Linked DNA regions of Homo sapiens: region 2 is linked to region 1. Evidence: promoter capture Hi-C in 16 types of primary human blood cells and fetal thymus (Javierre and others, 2016). All regions are on one chromosome and are shown on one strand. The core of a region is centred on a gene start or on the middle of the fragment in contact, and the rest is flanking DNA. Distances in the headings are between cores, read along the strand shown. Region 1 holds the start of ZNF471 (zinc finger protein 471). Region 2 overlaps ZNF350-AS1 (ZNF350 antisense RNA 1).

Region 1 (4,216 bases), core at 1,619-4,118:
CTGGTTGTGAAACCTGAAGAGATTAAACAAACTTTGCATTTTCTCAAAACAAACAAAAAAGAGTTTGTTAGAATTAATAAAGCTGACCCCAAGCTAGGATAAGTTGGATCCAGTGTCATACAAGGCCATTTCCAATTCTAAACAAATAACGTTGACCACATGGAGCCTGTGGGGAAAACTGGTCAACTCTCACCTGAAGTTCCAAAAGTTGAGAATATCATATTCTGTCCCAGAAATTAATTTGTAATCCAAATTCACCTGGTCACCAACACTGTTGTTAAATTTGATATTCTTCAGAAAGGAGTTAAGCTTAAAAATAGTGCACTGTTACAGGATGGAAAGAGTTCTGAATTTGGAAAGAAGAAACTTGAATTAGAGTAATACCTTTGAAACTTATTAGATGTGTGGCTTTGGAAAAAGTCCCTTATTGTTTAAATCTTCAACTGTAAAGTTAGTTATTCAATTTTATTTTTACAAGAATTATGTGAGATAATACCTTTGATGGCCCATGAACAAAAATGTGGTATATATAAAGTAAAAATTAGATAAAGAAAACATTATATATGTAATGTAATGATAATTTAATATATAGTATGATAATGGAAATACCCCTTACTTCCTTGGTGGGATGAATGAGGACAGAAGAATCAAAATAATCTCTTGTTATTGGTTGAATTTTGTCTGCCCCAAATTTTGCATGTTGAAGTCCTAACTCCCAGTACCTCAGAATGTGACTGTATTTGGATATAGGATTTTTACAGAGTTAATTAAGTTGAAATGAGGTCGTTAGGGTGGGTCCTAATGCAATCTGACTAGTCTCACCATGTCTCCATGGGTTTTCTCTGGGTACTCCAGATTCCTCCCACATCCCAAAGATGTGCACAGTAAGTTAACTGGTATGTCTAAGTTGTCCCAGTCTGAGTGAGTGTGGGTGTGTAGTAGGCTACACAATCTAGGTTTGTGTAAGTACACTCTATGATGTTTGCACAACAAGGTTCTTAGGAAATTGCCTAAGAACCCATTTCTCAGAATGTATCTCCATCCTTTAGCGATGTAGACTGTATTTCCATACTGTAAATAGTCCCCTTGTGGTGGATTTCAATCTACCAATATGACATCACTGAATGTGGAGTTAGAAAGAAAGGTACAGTTCATGGCTCTCAGTTCCTACAGCTCTTTTAATTTCCTAAATGACTGCAGCAATAAAGTATCTTTTGTTAAAATATCTGGCCTTTTGTTCCTGGTTCCTGAAAAAGCTCCAGAACAGCTCCAGAGCCATAAAGGTGAAAGACAGTATTTCAACCACACATGAGTTTATGTTAATGAGGTGATTTTTGGAAACTCTCAAGATAATCCCAATATTTGGGGGGAGTGGTGGCTAGTTGCCAGAGGAACCAGCCATGTGCTCAGAGGACTGGAACTCACAGCTCCACCCTCTACTTCTGGGAAAAGAGAGAGCCTGAAAATTAAGTTGATCGCCAGTGGCCAATGATTTAATCAATCACATCTACATAATGAAACCTTGAAAACCGAAAAGGCCTGAGTTCAAGCGGCTTCCAAGAAGGTAGACAAAAACACATCCTCGTGCTGGGAGGGTGGTGCACCCCAACTCCACGGGCACAGAAGTTCCTGCACTAGGGATTCTCTCGGACCTTGCCCTACATGTCTCTTCATCTGGCTATTTGTATCCTTTAAAATATCTTTTATAATAAACCAGTAAACATAAGTGTTTCCTTGAGTTCTGTGAGCTGCTCTAGCAAACTAATGGAACCCAAGGAGCCGGCTGTGGGAGCCCCAATTTATAGCACATCTCTCTGAAACACAGGTACAACAATCTGGAGTTTGGAATTGGCATGGGAAGTGGGGGACAGTCTTTTGGGACTGAGCTGTCTAACCTGTAGGATCTGATGTTTTCCAGGTAGCGTCAGAATTGAATTGGAGTAGCGGTCACCTGGCTGGTGTCTGCTGCAGACAGGTTTTTTTGACATGTTAAGACATTATAAGAGACAATAGAAAAAATGTATACGATACAACCTTCTCTGAGTTATATTTCTCCATAGCCCTTTTTACTGTTCATCAGACTGTTTATCTAACTCATGAATTTGTGGCTTGTCTCTCTCCGCTTCAAAGTAAATTACATAATAAGAGGACAGGGATTTTTTTTTCTCTGCTGTATCCCCCTGAATTGCTTTTCCTTATTTGTCTCACCTTCCAATACTAATTCTACAGTTCTCCTAGTCAGGGCTAGTCCCCTAAAACGGGGACCATTTCCATTTTGTTAAGGGGCTGAACGCGGTTCAAGCCTAGCAGATTGGTTCCAAAAACGTCGTGTTATTCACTGCCTCTGATCAGTGACATTCCCATTTGCAGCTGAAAGAGGTATTAATTCGCCAGAGTCACAACACGGTCGGGGTTCCTCGTCGCTGTCTTATTCCAAAATAAGCTTAACACAGAAAGATAATGACACTCCCACGGACTGGCACAGAAGGCCGCGCTCCGAATGACATCGCGATCACAGAGGCACAGACAGCGTCACAAAGCCCCACGCGTACTCACACCGAAGGCTCAGCCGTCGCGCGTTTCCCTCCCAGGCCCCAGGAACTAGTAACTAGGGACGCTTCTGGTCTCTAGGCGAGGAGAGGGGGAGAGCGCAATCTTTGCGCCTGCGCACACTCCTGCTCTTACCCGCCGGAACCCTGGGCCACGCCCGGCTCGCGTAATCACGCACTGCGCAGGCACCGCCCGCTCTGCTCTAAGGTCCCTCTCACTCCTTCAGCAGCCCGAGGACAATCCCCTCAACACTAGGCCACGCCTTGTCTCCGCCCCTCTCGTCCGACCCCTGGAGAGAGGCTGGCGCCTGCGCGATGGGGGGTTCCAGCGTCGACTCACGGAGTCCTTCGGATGAGAGCGTCTGGGTGCCAGACGAGGCCGGGGGTTTGTTTTGGGTGGTTTGGGAGTCCGAGCTCGAGGGCTGGGCCAGGAAGGGCAGGCGAGGCGGGCGGCTCCGACGCGGGTCGCGAAGGCCCAGCCGCGTCCTCTGTCCCCAGGACGACTACATTTCCCAGAGGCCAGCGGGGCGCGCGTACTCGAGTCTGCGGGGCGGAGGCCGCGGCTCGGGGCTGCTGGGCGTTCGGGGCGGCTTGGGGCGGCGGGACCACTGGAGTGAGCTGTGGGAGAGATGGGGGTGTGCCTGTGTGTAAAAGATCTGTCAGAGTGTGAGGCTCCGTGAGAGGGTGTGGTTTCTGTGTGTGTGTGTGTGTGTGTGTGACAGACCGAGAGTCCAGTGTGAGACCAGGGTATGTTCGTGTGTGACAGAGCGAGACGGGCCAGTGTGAGAGACCAGTGAGTGTGAGAGAGATAGGGATGTGCCTGCATTTGAAAGAGAGCGTGTGAAGCTCAGTGAGAGGTTGCGAGGTGTGTGGGTGTGTAAGTGTGTAACAGACCAGGTGTCCAGAGCGTGAGACCAGGATGTATTCGTGTGAGAGAGTGAGACGGGCTGGATGGAGTGTGAGAGACCAGTGAGTGTGAGAGATGGGCGTGTGCCTGTGTGTGAAAGGCCGGTCGGTCGGTGGGTGAGGCTCAATGAGAGGCCGGTGTGTGTTCGAGAGAGAGAAGAATCACCATGTATGCGAGACTAGACTGTGCAAGAACAGAGTGTGAGACTGTGGTATGTTAATGTGTGAAAGGGAGACCAGTGAGTGTGAGAAATGGGTGTTTTGGGTGAAAGACCCGTCAGTGTGTGAGGCCGTGTTATGTGTGTCTGACAGACTGAGAGAGACCAGAGTGTGAGACCAGGGTGTGTTCGTGTGTGAGAGACAACATAGCGTGAGACCAGTGAGTGTGAGAGAGATGAGCACGTGGCTGTGTGTGAAAGACCAGTCATTATGTGAGGCTCCTTGAGAGGCTGGTGTGTGTGTATGAGAGAGAGAAAGAGACTAAACTGTGAGAGTCCAAAGAGTGAGACTAGGTTATGTTGTTATGAGTTTGTGAGAGAGAGGGAGGCGATCAAAGTATAGGACAAAGTTATGTTTCCTGGCTTACGACTTCTAAGATCCTTGGAATCTCCAAAGTATTAAGTGTCTTTTTGCATGCTAATGATTGGTGGGCTGGCAGCCTGTAGGTTGATCACGGTAAGGGATGGTCACAAGAACAATCTAGGCAGGATTAGAGGGTTGGGATTACCTGCCCCATCCCTCAATCTCCAGGGAAAGGAAAG
Region 2 (4,524 bases), core at 1,729-4,228, 4.6 Mb before region 1:
AATTAGGGAAGGGTAAGGAAGAGGAGTTGGCCAACAGGAATCAGGTGGTCGGTTAGGCAATCATGATGGATGAGGGGTCCACCATCGCATTGTCTAGATGCAGTGATCTGGTAAGTTTCAGTTCCTTGAACTATCTGGGAGGCCTGAATGGTTTCATGAGAAACGAACTCAGATAAAATGAATATAAGTTTCAAGCTTTAAGACTAGGAGAGTCAATTTCTATATTTATTCAAAAAGACTGTTAACATCATTTCTGTGGGGAAATCCAGCCAGTTTAAAAAATGATCAGCAAAGATAGGGAATATGGTAGAAATGTAAAGGAAATAGAGGTTAAAGTGATATATAGAGCATAGGGAATGATGGCATGATATGTAAAAGGCATGTCTAAATTTTGAATAAACATAATGAAGGGCAGAGAATGAAGGGATTAAATGGAAAATTTGTCAGGCCATGAGGGAGAATGCCAAAAGATTTGGTCCGAAGCCAACCATATGAAAGCCAATGTTAGAAGGTGTCTGTAGGGGAAGTAGTAGAATAGAAATGTGGATAAGTGGGGTAATCATAGCAACATTAACTTTTATTGCCAGGCCGAGTGGATTTTGTGTTAGTAATTGAGGTAGCATGGTAGAGGGTAGGTTTCTTTTGTATTTTTCTAGCCTATGGGTAGTCTTATCTTTCACCCAGTGACAGCAATGATGCAATAATAAGGAACAGCCAGAGTTTCATATATAAATAAATATATAAATTATATATATATATCTTTTGAGATGGAATCTTGCTCTTTCACCCAGGCTAGAGTGCAATGGTGTGATCTCAGCTCACTGCAACCTCCACCTCCTGGGTTCAAGCAATTCTCCCACCCCAGCCTCCCTAGTAGCTGGGATTACAGGCGCCCACCACCATGCCCAGCTAATTTTTTGTATTTTTAGTAGAGATGGGGCTTCACCATGTTGGCCAGGTTGGTCTCGAACTCCAGACCTCAGGTGATCCACCCGCCTCAGCCTCCTAAAGTGCTGGGATTACAGGCGTGAACCACCACCTTACATTCTGGCTGGGGAAAACAAAATAAAAACACAAGGAAACTAAAAAATGAGGTAGCTGCAAATTATGAGAGAAAACACACACTGCCTATATCCAATCAGGGAAATAAGCAGACACACTTGTTTTAAACAAATATCTTGGGAGAGGCAAGTCAGAATGTCAGATTTCGACTTCAACGTATCTGTGACACTCTTAGATGGTCATCCTGTTTTTAAAATGCATCCCTTAGGGAGGTGGGGGGGTCAGCCCCCCGCCCGGCCAGCCGCCCCGTCCGGGAGATGAGGGGCGCCTCTGCCCAGCCGCCCCTACTGGGAAGTGAGGAGCCCCTCTGCCCGGCCAGCCGCCCCATCCGGGAGGGAGGTGGGGGGGTCAGCCCCCCGCCCGGCCAGCCGCCCCGTCCGGGAGGGAGGTGGGGGGGTCAGCCCCCCGCCCGGCCAGCCGCCCCGTCCGGGAGGTGAGGGGCGCCTCTGCCTGGCCGCCCCTACTGGGAAGTGAGGAGCCCCTCTGCCCGGCCACCACCCCGTCTGGGAGGTGTACCTAACAGCTCATTGAGAACGGGCCATGATGACAATGGCGGTTTTGTGGAATAGAAAGGGGGGAAAGGTGGGGAAAAGATTGAGAAATCGGATGGTTGCGGTGTCTGTGTAGAAAGAGGTAGACATGGGAGACTTTTCATTTTGCTCTGTACTAAGAAAAATTCTTATCCTGTTGATCTGTGACCTTACCCCCAACCCTGTGCTCTCTGAAACATGTGCTGTGTCCACTCAGGGTTAAATGGATTAAGGGCGGTGCAAGATGTGCTTTGTTGAACAGATGCTTGAAGGCAGCATGCTCGTTAAGAGTCATCACCACTCCCTAATCTCAAGTACCCAGGGACACAAACACTGCAGAAGGCCGCAGGGTCCTCTGCCTAGGAAAACCAGAGACCTTTGTTCACTTGTTTATCTGCTGACCTTCCCTCCACTATTGTCCTATGACCCTGCCAAATCCCCCTCTGCGAGAAACACCCAAGAATGAACAATAAAAAAAAATAAAAATAAAAATAAAATGCATCCCTTTTCTTCATTCTGTATCATCAAACTAATTTTCCCAAAGCACCAATCTCACATTTAGAGAGAAACTTATTCTCAGTGTCCAACCTTTAGCCTCACTGTGGGCACATTCTCCTGTGCTTCTAAAGAAAGAGGGAAAGATGAGAAACAATGATCATTTGGAAAGTTTGCAACAGGCCAATGAACCATGTAGACCTCTCCAGAAGCAGATGTGCTTCTGAATAGGATAAGATGTGTTACTGAATGGGTGCTACTGCTGGTGCCCACATGTGTTGTCTGTCACCTTCAGTCACATTTGGCATGTAGTACCTACACAGATGTCAGATCTGAATTTTTCCCATTTCATTGTCCCTAATACACTGATCCCTTGTCATGTAACTAATAGCATCTTCTATAATTCTACAATTATGTCTTGGTTGGCATCACAAAAGGGGCCTAAGGGACCACCTTATTCCTTTTAAACCAAGACTCATGCCACCTTTACATATTTCTTAGAAAGGAGGATATATAATGGAGGAAGACAAGGCTCACCGATGAGTTCAAAACAAGGGGACGAAGAAAGTGAGGAATTAAGGTTTGCTCCTAAGTATTTTGCTTGAGTCAAGAGACTTTTTTTTTGAAAGATATATTTAACATTTTACATTATGTATATAATAGTCAAAAAGTCTTTTATCTCAGTCAATGAATATTTTATTTCAGTGAAAGGGTCTTATATATCGGGGACATCTGGCCTGGGATCTAGGAAACATGGAAGGAAATTAATCTGTAATAAAGTGTTAGTAATTAAGAGGTCAAGCTCTATGACTCAGTCTCCAAAGTCAACTTTCCTCAAGTCCTAATAACTTTTAGACGCCCCCAATATACAGACTATTTTCTTTTAGGCTCAACTTTCTTTACATAAGACATGTGAATCCACACGTCTATGCCTTCTACATTTTAGTGCAAGGATTAGTAAAAAGTAACTAATAGAGCGCTTTCCAGTTTGGTTAAAGGGAGTCCTTTAACCAAATATCATTTTAGATATCATTTCCAGTAGAAAAAAATCTCCTGGCTGAAGTTCATGGGTTTTAAGTTCTTTGTTTCCTGGGAGTTCACTATAAAAAGAGTCTTTTTTCAAATTATGATTTTTAGGTAGTTGTTTTATAAAGATGTCAGAAAAATTTAATATGTCTTCTTTTAGCATTATGGATTTATACTTTCCTGGGGATAGTTTCATGCATCTACCTGTTATTATCTCAATTAGGGAAAACTGATGTCTACCAAAAGGGGTGGATTTTAGGTTAAGGAAAACCAGTGGAAGGGCCCTTGGCCAAGACATGTGAAAAGCCTGGGTTAATTTTGCCAATTGAATTTTAATTATTTTGTTTATGCATTCTACTAATGCAGATGACTGAGGGGGATATGCAGAATGGAAGTGTTAAAGAATTGGCCATATTTTACGTAGTGACTGAATTACATGGGCAGTGAAATGAGTACCTCTGCCCCTATGAAGTTCTAGAGAGACTCCTCAAGTCTAAATAATTTTTCAAGGAGAATTTTACTTAATGTTAGGGCTGTTGCTCTTCTGCATGGAAATGCTTCTACCCAATGAAACTATACAGACTTTCATTACTAGAACATACTTGTATCCTTGTGATGGGGTAGTCGAATAAAATCTGCCACACCTCAAAGGGGGCCTCAGGTAAAGAAAAATGTTCTTAGGAACTATGTAAAGGTTTCCCTGGATTATATTTTGGGCAAATATGGCAGCAACTAAATGCTTTATGAGCTATAGTTGAAGAAACTTTTCAAAATACTATTTTTCTCAATAACCACTTTATCAGGGCTCCGGTGAATTAAATCAGTCCGTAGGGTTGAAAATGATGATTGTAATTCAGTAGGAAGTATAGGCAAGTTGTTTAGTCCACACCATATTTCACCTTTTTGTTTTATATTTTCTAATTCTGTTTTTAGAGCTCTGGATTGGGTTAATTTATGTCAAATTTGGGGGCTTCTTTCAAAGTTAATATGAATTGTTTTTATTGCCTAGATGTATTTAGGCAGTCCTCATTGTAACCTTATGAGCTAGCTGACTTCCTTCACTTTCTGGAGTATCTGATTTGGAATTTTTTGGAGTATCTGATTTGGATTTTAATAATAGGTAGTGAGTTTTATAATAATGTTTTTTTAATAATAAAGAGATAAGGTATCCATTTTTTATGGACTGGCCGGAAGAGGTTCAAGACCCTCTTTATTTATTTTCACAGTATTACAAAGTCACGAATGACTTCAAAGGTATATCTGTTGCCTGTATATAAATTAGCAGTTGTTCATTTTGCCAACTGACAAGCTCTAATTAGTGCTGTCAATTTGGCTTGTTCAGCAGAGATTGCTTCTAGAAGATAAGCACTTTCTATTTTTTCCCTTGGGATATTATAACATAACCTGCTTG

What was found. The method cuts DNA at HindIII sites, captures the fragments that hold promoters and counts their contacts. A CHiCAGO score of 5 or more calls a contact.
Region 2: a contact is called between a fragment that was not itself captured here and the fragment with the promoter of ZNF471 in region 1, in 1 of 17 cell types (total B cells). The highest score is 5.1, in total B cells.

The regions. Positions count from the first base shown.
Region 1 is chr19:56,504,987-56,509,202 of GRCh38, forward strand. It overlaps ZNF471 (zinc finger protein 471), which reads left to right and starts at 2,869. Exons shown (of 5, transcript NM_020813.4): 1 at 2,869-2,934. The HindIII fragment of the contact is 1,838 bases long and covers 2,442-4,216 here.
Region 2 is chr19:51,951,572-51,956,095 of GRCh38, forward strand. All of the region lies in intron 1 of ZNF350-AS1 (ZNF350 antisense RNA 1), which reads left to right. Among named protein-coding and RNA genes, the nearest start is that of ZNF350-AS1, 4.7 kb to the left of the region's middle. The HindIII fragment of the contact is 5,571 bases long and covers 194-4,524 here.